Linked DNA regions of Homo sapiens: regions 2 and 3 are each linked to region 1. The links are contacts of gene promoters, found by promoter capture Hi-C in blood cells and fetal thymus (Javierre and others, 2016). All regions are on one chromosome and are shown on one strand. Each heading gives the region's core, a stretch centred on a gene start or on the middle of the fragment in contact. The rest is flanking DNA. Distances are from core to core; before and after follow the strand shown.

Region 1 (3,684 bases), core at 90-2,589:
TCCTGTGACTAGGAACAGTAAACTAGCTCCGCAAGTTAAATAAACTTTTGACCCTTTCTATAACCATTCTCAATAATCTTTAGGATTTTCATTACATTTCTATTTTTTCCTACTCGGCAAACTTGTAAGACTGTAACTGTTAATCCCATTCTTCCTTCCAGATTGCAAGACAAAAGCAGCATACACACTCTGCCTGATGCGAAGTCAATTTCATTCGAACCCTTTAGGATTTAAAAATAAAAACTGTTTTGCCAGCACAAGATGTCACCGCTCTCTTACCATATCATCCCCTTTCCCTCTTCGTAATATATTCATCAAGTTCACTGAGTATGTATTCATCAACAGTCCCTTTACGTGGGACCGTGAGCCCCTACCTTTTTCAATTTGATGAGTGAGAAGATAAGTAACCTTGAAGCCAGATTTTCAGAGAGAGAGAGAGAGACTGCAGGACCAGCTGCGGAGCTGGGCTGCGCGATGCCCCTGGCTCCTCCCTGGGGCTGGAGGAGCGGGAGACCTTCGGCGAGGCCTGTCACTCACCTGACTGGGTGCCTGAATTGGTAAAGCTTTCCTGAGGCTGCGGTCATTCCAGGGCCATCGGGCATCTGGAGAGGAAAGGAAGTGAATCCAGTTATCACCCACCTCCTTCTAGAAAGTGGAAACGTGCACGACCCAGTGTTCCTCGTGCCCGCTGGGAATGTAACCCCAGGGCTCTCAGCAGCCTCGCTCCCGGCTGGGTGCCTGTGGCCCATCGCTCCAGAGGACACATCCGCCGCGTCGGCACCTTTATGGCCACCGGCAGGCGGGATGTTAAGCGAGAGGCAGGACCCGGTGTCTCGCATGTCTCTCTCAGGCCCTGCGTCCCGAGAGCCCTGGTCGATCTTCTGCACCCGTGGGAGGCGCGGCCTGAGACGCGTGGCTCACTCACCGCCTCCGCGGCGTGGTTCGGCGTCTCCTCTTCTTTCTTGCCTCCGGCGTCCACCCAGGGTCTCCAGAAGCCTGCGTATCTGCGGGATAGGGGAGCACAAGGCGCGCAGAGGAGACGTGAGCCCAGACCCGGGAGAATCCACCGAAGCCGAGCGCTGGCACCGGGCAGTGGGGGATGGAGAGTTGGAGGGGAGGAGCTGGGGAGGCGCAGGAGGGAGAGACGGGGGAAGCTGGGAGGCGCAGAGCAGCGCGGGGAAGCCTACCCGGAGTCCGCGCCCGCGCGCCGCGTAGGGCCGTCGGTGGCCGCGCACGCCGCAGCTCCACTCTCTGTACCCTCTGCGCCTCCCGCGTTCTCCATGACGCCGCAGAGCTGGGCGGAAGGCCGCTGCCAGCTCGCGGGCAATCTTGACCAGTTCCAGTAGGTCCGAGACCCGAGCTTTATATAGCCCTCGCGGCCTGCTGCACATTGAGAGGTTCGCTGCCTCTCCGCCCCTCTCCCTGCTAGCCGCATAAACAAAAAGGCTGCGCGTGAAGGCGCACCGGGCTGAGCCCCGGGTGTGAACGCGTGCAACTCCCAAATGGCCCGGGACAGGGTTTTGTCGAGCGAATGTTAATCGCCCTTCGACACATGGCTGCGGAGAAAAACAACATTCGCCCGAGCAGCCAATTTCCGTGTGAAGAGGCCAGGAGGAGATGGAATTAAGCGAGTCTACACGTTTTGTGGATTTCTGCAAAAAGGCCAAGTGACTGGTTAATTGCTTGATTCGCTGGAGACTCAGGACTTGGCCTGTGGCAAATCAACTGGTTCTGCATCCCGTGTTCTAAAAGCTGGGATGCAGACTAGAATTCAAAGGAATAAACTTAATTCCTCTTCATGGAACAATTTTCTAAAAAATGGGGAGAATGCATGGACTCCTTAAGAGAGGAATGTCGGTTTTTTAAAAAAGTATTGATAAACTAGGTTCATACTCCAGCCTATTATTATTTGAAGATAATAGAAAATTATTGGCAACAAGAGGTAAATTGTAAAAGATTCGCTGTTCTGGCTAAGAGAGCCAGAGACTGGAGTCATGTGATTTGGGCATAGAGCTCTAAATTATCTTCTCGTGTCTTTTGTGATTTTCCCCAACATTTTATCAGTGTCCTCCTACAATAACTTTTGAGTTCGTCTATACACCTCTGTCACTACTTGGTATTTTGTCACTCAATGGTAATTACAAAATTCTTTTTTGAGGGCAGTGTTGTGGAATGATAATGAAATCTTGAAAAGTTATGATATGAGACAAGTTAATCAAACGTCTGCACCCCTGTTTCTCTGATTTGAGTTACCCCTCACTTATCTACCACTAAACTTTGTAAAAAGTGTTATGCATCGAGGAAAAGATGATATATAAATGTTATAATTTTTTTCAAAATGTTTTAAATAATAAAACTGGACTTTCTCTTAAAAGTTTAGACAAAAATCTTGATTGTAAACTATAGTTGTCTCTGCTATTCATTCAGCTACTGCATAGGAAAATAATTTAATTATTAATAGTAGCTAAGAGCCTATAATGATCTACCTGCCAGGAAGGTGAGATTTGGGTTGCTTCTGATAAGAAAATCAGTAAGGATAGATACCTAATGCATGTCTGCATCCCCTACAGTTATTGTTAGGCTAAATAAAATAAAGCTTATAAAATGCGTTTTGCAGTGCCTGGCATATAGTAAGCCTTCAACAGATTTTAAGCTACGTAAAAAAATATAAGGCCTTAACAGATGTTAACCTTTCTGATAAAATGGCTTATTATTTCAGTTCCATAATGTAAACTAGTTAAATCATTGTGGAAGATGGTGTGGTGATTCCTCAAAGACCTAGAACCAGAAGTACCATTTGACCTAGCAATCCCATTACTAGGGATATATGCAAAGGAATATCAATCGTTATTTTACAAAGATGGCATGCATAATGTTTGTATGCGTATGTTCATTGCAGCACTATTTGCGATAGCAAAGATATGGATTCAACTCAAATGCCCATCAGTAATAGACTGGATAAAGAAAATGTGGTACATACACAACACGAAATACTATGCAGCCATAAAAAGGAACAAGATCATGTCCTTTCCAAGGACGTGGATGGAGCTGGAAGCCGTTATCCTCAGCAAACTAACGCAGGAACATAAAACCAAACACTGCATGTTCTCACTTATAAGTGGGAGCTGAATAATGAGAACATCTGGACACAGGGAGGGGAAAAACACACACTGGGCATGTCAGTGGGTGGGGTGGGAGGAGAGAGAGGATTAGGAAAAATAGCTAATGCATGCTAGGCTTAATACCTAGGTGATAGGTTGATAGGTGCAGCAAACCACCATGGCACATGTTTACCTATGTAACAAACCTGCACATCCTGCACATGTACCACAGAACTTAAAATGAAAATAAAAAATAAAAAAAAATCTTTTTGAGGTGGCTGTAATGTGCTAACTACTGTGCTTTCCAGATAAGGACAGTAAGGTATTCCTCCTATCCTTGAGAAGGTTACAATTATTCCAAACTCTGACCACTACAATAAACACATAAGCAAAAAAAAAAAAAAAAAAAAAAATTTAAAGTGACACATTCAATAGTAAAAGCGCATTTTAGGCAGATAGGTGGGAGGAACTTAAGAAGTCTGTTTGGGATAACCAGGAAAGCCTTCTTAGAGTAAATCAAATCTAAGTTGATATTTTTGGAAGGATTAATCAAAGAATGGTATTGTCTGGGTTGTTCAGGAGT
Region 2 (3,928 bases), core at 447-2,946, 100 kb before region 1:
CACTGTAAGACTTCAAAAGAACCTTGGTCTCCACAATCTTTTATCTTAACCTGAACATTCCCTTTCTGTGGATCTCAGGTCTTTAGACAAACTCAACCAATTGTCAACCAGAAAATGTTTAAATGTTTAAACTTACCTAGAGCCTGGAAACCCGTGCCCCCCCCAATCCAGCTTTGAGTTGTCCTGCCTTTCTGGACCAAACTAATGTATTTCTTAAATGTATTTGATTGATGTCTCATGCCTCCCTAAAATGTATCAAACCAAGCTATGCCCCGACCACCTTGGGCACATGTTCTCAGGACCTCCTGAGGGCTGTGTCACAGGCCACGGTCACTATATTTGGCTCAGAATAAATCTCTTCAAAGATTTTACAGAGTTTGACTTTTTTCATCAACATCTAGAAATGTTAGGTTAGTCACCTACTAAATAAGAATAGGGCACTTAGAACAGCCATATTTTAAAATTATCTAGAAATCCAATAGGGGCTATATTTAACCAAATATTTTAAAGTGCCATTTTAAAGCTAAATCACATCAAGATGAATTTCAAACAGGATCGCCACTACCACTGATTTTTCATGATCCATGCTTCAACTATTAGTCTTGCCTTATTTGTGTTCTAGTCTTCCCTTTTTGTCTTGCTGCTTGGCTTTTGATCACATATATTATTTACTTTCACTCAGTTACAGAGAATGAAGATCAAAAGCTACAATGAGATGAACATTCCTTATTAATTACTATATATTATGAAGCTTTGATGGAAGAAGAGGTTGGGCCTAATGTCCCAAATAAGAATTGTGGCACCAATCTTGTGAGTGTAACAATATTGGCAGCCATCACGAGCAGAGAACACTGACTGCTGGCTGTAACTTACTTTTATGTTTTATCTAACAATATGCATAATCCTGGCCTCCAACTCAAACTATACGAAGATTTAAAGACTTTGTTATTTTCTAAAACTGTAAGATTATTAAAGTGCAGTTTCATATAAACAGGAAGAACTGAGAGATGCTTGTTATGAAAGATCTTCACTTCAGTGTTGGGCAGTCTGTTTCCTACTACACTGTTACTCACCTTACTCCTTGTTCTGTAAATGGCACTGGTCCACAAATGCAGACGAGAACTTTGGATTTGTCCAAATTTCTTTTCAAAAATTCAGAAAGAAGAGCTGGTGAAATATGTCCCTGTTTGCCATTCCATTCAGAAATAGGTGCTGAGAGAACAAATTCAACATCCAGTCTAGGGAAAAGAAAAACAGCTTTTTAAAGTTTATTATTTTAAACATATTATTAACATGTTTCAAGTTCAAGAATATATTTCTCCCCTAAAGGAACAATTTAATATATAAAGATACACTTACTTGCTAGAAAAACACTGAAAAAAATTGTAAGATTTAACAAAAACGTATAGGTAAATCTATATTTACTAAGGATTAGCTTTTCCTATAGATAAGGAATGTAATTTGGCATTTTTTTTTAAATTGAACTAATTATCCAAGCATGGTAGCTCACACCTGTAACCCTAGCATCTTGGGAGGCCAAGGTGGGAGGATTGTTTGAGAACAGGAGTTTGAGACCAGCCTGGGCAACACAGTGAGACCTAGTTTCTACAAAAAAAAAAACCCAAAAACAACAACAACAAAAAAAACTGTTTAAACTTAGCCAGGTGTGGTGGCATGTGCCTGTGGTCCTAGCTATTTGGGAAGCTGAGGCAGGAGGATCGTTTGATCCAGTGAGATATGATTGCACCAGCCTAGGCAACAGAGCAAGAACCTGTCTCTTAAAAAAGAAATTAATTAAAAATAAATATATAAATGAAATAAAGATCCCAAGGGATCTCAGAGAACGCTACATTTCTATTAATAATCTACTAGTATTGAAAAAAAAGAACAAATATTGCATGTTCTCACTTATGAGTGGAGCTAAACCCTGTGTACATAAGAACATAAAGATGAGAACAATAGACACTGGGGGCTCCAAAAGGAGGGAGGTGTAGGGAAAGGGGCAAGGGCTGAAAACCCTCCTAGTGTGTACTATGTTCATTGTCTAGGTGACAAGATCAATAGAAATCCAAATTTCAGCATCACGCAATATACCCTTCAAGCAAACCTGCACATGTACCCCCTGAACCCAAAATAAACAATAATAATATGCTGGTATAAATCACAGTAAATAGCAATTACCAGTGACACATGCATTTTAATCTCTGGCTGCAATTTAAGGATATTCTAAAGAGGCTGTTATCCTGCTTATCTCCTTTTCATACGCTGAGAAAAGAGCTTAAACTGGAACAGGAGCATTCCCAAGTTAAGACTCAATAATTCTTTAATGAAAGATTTTTTATATCAAAATATAGACAATTCCTGTGGAATACTCTCTCCTGGGTTTTCTGAATGAAGGTTAACTTACTGTCTAAAAAATTACAGCTTTGAGATGCTGGAGACATGTGGGGGGCACACAGTAAACATCCTGAAATTCTTTTATAATTTCAAAAGTGCCAGAAGGGGTTGGGACCCTTGAAAAGGTTACCTGAAAATAAATTCAGATAACCCATAAAATACAAAGTAATATGAAAGAGGAAGAGAACAGACCTGCTTCTGATGAGTGCCTATGTGATCTCAAACGTCAATCTAAGTAAGCTTGTCAAAAATTTTATTTTAAAGTAGGCTGATAGTGATCTGAGATGACAAGTCTTGAAATACAAATGTATTCATTTAGTCTAAATCATTAGCAGTCATCCAACGACTTATTCCCTCCTCCTCTAGCCAATCAGCTTCAGCAACTTGCCTCCTTCATTTTCTCACACAAAGTCCCTTACCTTCCCATTTTTACTGTCACAACTCCAGATCAGGTTCTTATATCTCATCTAAAATATTACATTAACAGCCTTAGCCCTTAATCTATTTGATATACCATTGCCATATTAGTTCCCCTAAAAACTCTGATACAACTTTACAACTTTTTTGCTTAAAAGCTTCAGTGATTCCTCACTGCCCACAGATTGGTATTTCAGAGTACTTGGGGCCCCAGCTTTTCCTGCTTTTGTTTTTTTTGTTTTTTGTTTTTTTTCTAGCTAAAGAAAATGCCTGCAACTGTAGTAAAAATTGCTATGTGCTCAAAGGAAAAAAATCTCACAAAACTAGGAATCAAAATTAGATAAAATATATATAATTATATATGTTTCCATAATTATATGGAAACATTTCTTAAAATGAATCTAATGAAACACTAGTATGCCTCCAGATGTTAGTAGTTATTCCATGAAAGCAGGCTAACTATCAAATAAGTCTGTGACATACTGGGTTAAAAAAAGTTAAATATATTTCCGTAGAATTTCAGAAAGCCTTATATATGCTAAGTTCAGAGTAAATCTTCAGGAAGGCATATACTGTTTCCCAAATTTATTCAATCACAGAGTCCATTCCGGGGAACACATTAACATTTCAAAGAACACATTCTGAGCAACACAACATCTGAGGAACATCTCCTGGAAGAAACCGAAAGTGCTATAAGGCTCCAGATTAGTGGGCTGCATATCTGTCAGCATAAGAGGCTGGGGAAAAAGAAACAGTTTCAGGTATACTGTTCAATTTACTTCTGCTTCTGGCATCATCAGCTTTTGCTAACTTAAATGGAACTGCCACATTGCCAGTCCCAATACTGACATCAGAAGACAAAAACATATAGTCCACAGAGCCTGTCAGCACTACAGGGAGATGAGCCACAGAGTGTCACTGTGCCTTCTTCCTATGTCTATCTGATATATAATATTTACTTCACATATTAATTACATTCAAGGTCTTTCAGCACCTGATTTTAGCCTATCTTGTTTCCTCAATTGTAAACAAAAAGATCAGAAATGATAACTATTAAGATTCCTTCTAAAACTGATATAAGGTTTAATGGGTTTATTTTTAGTTATTCTGCATC
Region 3 (3,834 bases), core at 1,151-3,650, 120 kb before region 1:
CTCTGTTCACTTCCTTTCTTTAAAAATTGTCCTCTCATTTACTTTTCTTCTACTCTATTTGTCTGTTATAAAGTTTTGGTGCCACAAAAGAAATAGCACTTGAATATAATATTTTCTTTTTAATTCTCAGCGAGGCAAGGTACTTCTATAGAAGAGTGGAGCAATGGTGAGCGCACACTTGGACAAGGGAGGGGAAGGGGTTCTTATCCCTGACGCACGTGGCCCTTGCTGCTGTGTCATTCCCCTATTGGCTAGGGTTAGACTGCACAGGATAAACTAATTCCAACTGGCTAATTTAAAGAGAGTGAGGGGGTGGGGGTGAGTGGTTTGGCGGGAAAAATGGTTATGCAGGGTGGATAATGAGTCAGGGTGGAGCAGGTAGCAGGTCATCGGAATGAGTCAGGGTGGAGGAGGTAAACGGAGTGAGTCGGGGTGGAACAGGTGATTGAAATCAGTCAGGGTTGAGCAGGTAATCGACAAAGATTGCTTTATGAGGAAGTTAAGTTTAAAAGTAGAAGGCAAAGAATTGAACATACTGACATATTGATTCTTTGAAAAGAAATTTAGAACTCATATCTAACATCTCCTTCTCCTTTTGCCATCTTCAGTACCAAGTGAAAAGAAAATAGAGAAGGCTTCTAATGACTCAGACCCCTTAAAGAACTCAGAATTAAGGTGCCACTCACCCCTTTTTGAGCTGTTCTGATTTGCTGTGGAGTTTCAACAGTCATGTGCTGATTCTTCTCAGGTCTAAAGCTCTGCTTTCTTGTATCGCATTACCTGATTTATTTGGCTTTTGGGAGTACCAGAGATCACCTTGTACTGTGAGAGTATTTGCCTTTGGCGTGTGTAATGCTGCATGAGAGCTACAATGTTAGGGGTGGTTGAGGGCAGTTTACAGGAAATGGTCATTACTATAGGGGACGACTACTCTTTGTTTTTAATGTTTAGATAAGAAAATCCTGTATACTTTCTTCGCCCCATTCCTTAAAGGCCTCCACCCTAAAGCCAGTAATCTAATTAAGCAGCTAAGTTGAAAATACCACCTTTAAAGGAAATTTACATTTTGTAAGGGCATATCTGTCTCTGCACCTAAAGTTCCTAATGGAACTTTAACTAGGGGTAAGACAATAGCTTAAAGTTTACATAACAAAACTTGTCTTTGTTTAGATCTAATCCTGTGCCTTTGAGTTGTACATTTTCTACCTTGTTTCACGTGATTCATATCTTTGGAGATGCAAATTTAGAATTACCTAGTTAACAATGATTTAGGACATGGAACAGATAATGAAGAGGTTCATAGTCTAAAGTAGGGAAGAGAGAATTTTTGAATACTAGCAAATGAAAAATTTTAAATCTATAAGATCTGCCTCTGAGTCTATTATGTCTGTATGTTCATATGTGTCATGTGAAAATATTTCAGTACCAATTATATGAAAGACATCTAATTAGTTGGCTTAAAGAAAAGTAAACATTTGTCAGACTAATAGAAGCTAGCTCAGAGGCTTTTCAGTTCACATGACGTTAGTCATCTTTGGTAAGATTAATTTGGTTAATTTAGTCTCAAAATTTTCTCCAGCAATTTAAAATCTTAAGGTCATGTTATGTTAAATTAAGTAATCCTATGTTTTCTCTGGGAATTAGGGTTACTGAGAGTTAGAATAGTAGGAGAATAAGATGCGGTTTTGGTGAAGTTTGCAAAAAAAACAATGAGGATGTGATTTTTGCTTAAGAAAATGTACTTTTTTTTTCCAATTTGAAGGACCTTTCTACTGGTGTTGAGAAAAAAAACACTATTTGCATCCAACCATTTGTGGTAAACTGGTAAGTTTGTATTAATATCTCATGAGTAGAGTTCTGAAGTAAAAGCTATAGGATCTTTATTTGTACGAGTATGTGTATGTGCTTAGATGTGTTTATCTGTACATATGTGTATGCATGCTTAGGTGAGTTAAGGTGTACATACATGTGTTTTGTTACGTGTTGTGGCCACAAGGTACCAAATTGGATTAGAAATAAAGGACTACTCAGGAATTAAGTAAATGAGCCAAAATGCTTTGCAAGTTCACGTGACATAAGTAAATTGCAAATAAACAAGCTGGCTTTAAAGTTATTGGTAAAATAAAATTAGAAATGTCTTCAGAATTGTCAGCCTACATTATTGTTTAGATTTATTAGCTAGGAAGTTTTCTATTTATCTCTGCTAAATATTATGAGGTATCAAGATTTAGCATGAGTTATAAAGCTGTAAATGTAGCCCCAAAGAGAATTTTATCTTATATAATTTTTTGATAAATAAGAAATTTAATATTATTGTGAGAGAGAAGAGAGAAAGAAATCAACTAGGCAGATAGTTAGGGCTAGAGTCCTCAGTAGAATTCCCTTCCAACAAAAAGCAGCTTCTCTTCTAACAAAAAGCAGCCCAACAAGTCATTTCTCTTTTAGCAAAGAGCAGCCTGAAAGATCAGGCTGCAAACACAGATAAGGAAGGCAAGTTCTAACACAGAATGGGACCTCGTATGTAATCAACAAGTTTTGCTGATATATATTGAGCCCAAGTAGAGCACATTCCTCTCCCTTCTTGGAAATGCTCAGACAAGGAGGCTTGCACAGGGGAAGTGCCTGCAGCAGCACTGATAAGAAGAGCGACCCTGGACCAGGCACATCCACCACAGAGGGTTCTGACCCTCTCCTCTTTTTTTTTTTTCCACACATACGCAGTAGGAAGAGATAAGCAAGATGGAGTAACTCAGACTAAGGAGCCCACATGTGCACTAGAAAGGTTGGGGTGAAGACTGTCAGAAATTTGTGCCATATGCAAATGAAACACCTACTCCTGATTTTTTTTGTGCAGTATATAAATGAAACACACCTCCCCACCAGTTTGTCTATAAAAACCTTTGCATTTCACTGTAAAATGGCAACCCATTTTTCTAGGACCCCTCTTGGTGCCAGAGAGCTTTCTTCCTTTTGCTTATTAAAATTCTGCTCTAACTTCACCTTTGGAGTGTCCAGGTCCTTGATTTCCTCAGCCATGAGACCAAGAACTTTCGGTGACACCCCAGACAACAAGGCTGGTTTCAATTGGTTTAACTAAAACAACTAAATCTTGAATTATTGGCAACTCCCCCACCACCTATTTATTTAACCTTAAGGTTCTTACTTAGATAAACACCTGAAATCCATAGGCTATAAAAATGGATAATAGGGAAATAACTTTAAATGATTATCATAGTTTTCATAACGAATCTAGGTAAAATATTAAGAAATTAATTAGGTAAGTATAATGGAATAAATGCTTATAAAAACTTGTCATATAATTTAGAATCTAAAGTTAAATTAATAATAAATATTAATTAAATGGGTCTTTCCAATATTTTAAAAAAATTACAGGAAAACATTTTTCTAAAAAATAATGGGTCCTTATTAAAAAAAAAATTTTGTCTACTTCAAAGGTTATTTAAAGGTTATTTATAAAACAAGGTAAAGGAACCATTAAGTAAGAGAGATGACAAGAAAGTTGTAAATATAAAGAGGTATTAAAAGGAATATAATTTTATATGAGAAACAATTTTGTATTATACATTTTTTGCCCTAAAATAAAATGCCTGGTTATTTAAGAAAAAAGAATGTTTAGGATAAAACAGGAAGTCCAAACATGTCATAAATGGTTTGTGTAAATTGTAATAGGGTTTGTAAAAAGTGAATTTATGAAAAAAACCTATGTGATCAAGTTGGCTATAATTAAAAGGAAATTGATTTACTCTTAATAAAAGATATTAAAAGGTACTGATTTATTTTTAATAAAATTACAAGAGATTTTAAATTTTTAAA

The links. The method cuts DNA at HindIII sites, captures the fragments that hold promoters and counts their contacts. A CHiCAGO score of 5 or more calls a contact.
Region 2: a fragment that was not itself captured here is called in contact with the fragment with the promoter of RIPPLY2 in region 1 in 1 of 17 cell types (neutrophils); the score reaches 6.6 in neutrophils.
Region 3: a fragment that was not itself captured here is called in contact with the fragment with the promoter of RIPPLY2 in region 1 in 1 of 17 cell types (neutrophils); the score reaches 5.5 in neutrophils.

Annotation. Positions count from the first base shown.
Region 1 is chr6:83,851,015-83,854,698 of GRCh38, reverse strand. It overlaps RIPPLY2 (ripply transcriptional repressor 2), which reads right to left and starts at 1,339. Exons shown (of 4, transcript NM_001009994.3): 1 at 1,188-1,339; 2 at 926-1,004; 3 at 538-602. The coding sequence starts at 1,282. It overlaps RIPPLY2-CYB5R4 (RIPPLY2-CYB5R4 readthrough), which reads right to left and starts at 1,339. Exons shown (of 18, transcript NR_174604.1): 1 at 1,188-1,339; 2 at 926-1,004; 3 at 538-602. The HindIII fragment of the contact is 2,033 bases long and covers 566-2,598 here.
Region 2 is chr6:83,952,608-83,956,535 of GRCh38, reverse strand. RIPPLY2-CYB5R4 (RIPPLY2-CYB5R4 readthrough) reads right to left here. Exons shown (of 18, transcript NR_174604.1): 17 at 1,074-1,238. It overlaps CYB5R4 (cytochrome b5 reductase 4), which reads right to left. Exons shown (of 16, transcript NM_016230.4): 15 at 1,074-1,238. Among named protein-coding and RNA genes, the nearest start is that of LINC02857, 66 kb to the left of the region's middle. The HindIII fragment of the contact is 1,886 bases long and covers 754-2,639 here.
Region 3 is chr6:83,973,571-83,977,404 of GRCh38, reverse strand. No RefSeq gene overlaps it. Among named protein-coding and RNA genes, the nearest start is that of LINC02857, 45 kb to the left of the region's middle. RefSeq lists enhancers at 161-455, 1-958 and a cis regulatory region at 2,349-2,954. The HindIII fragment of the contact is 8,700 bases long and covers 1-3,834 here.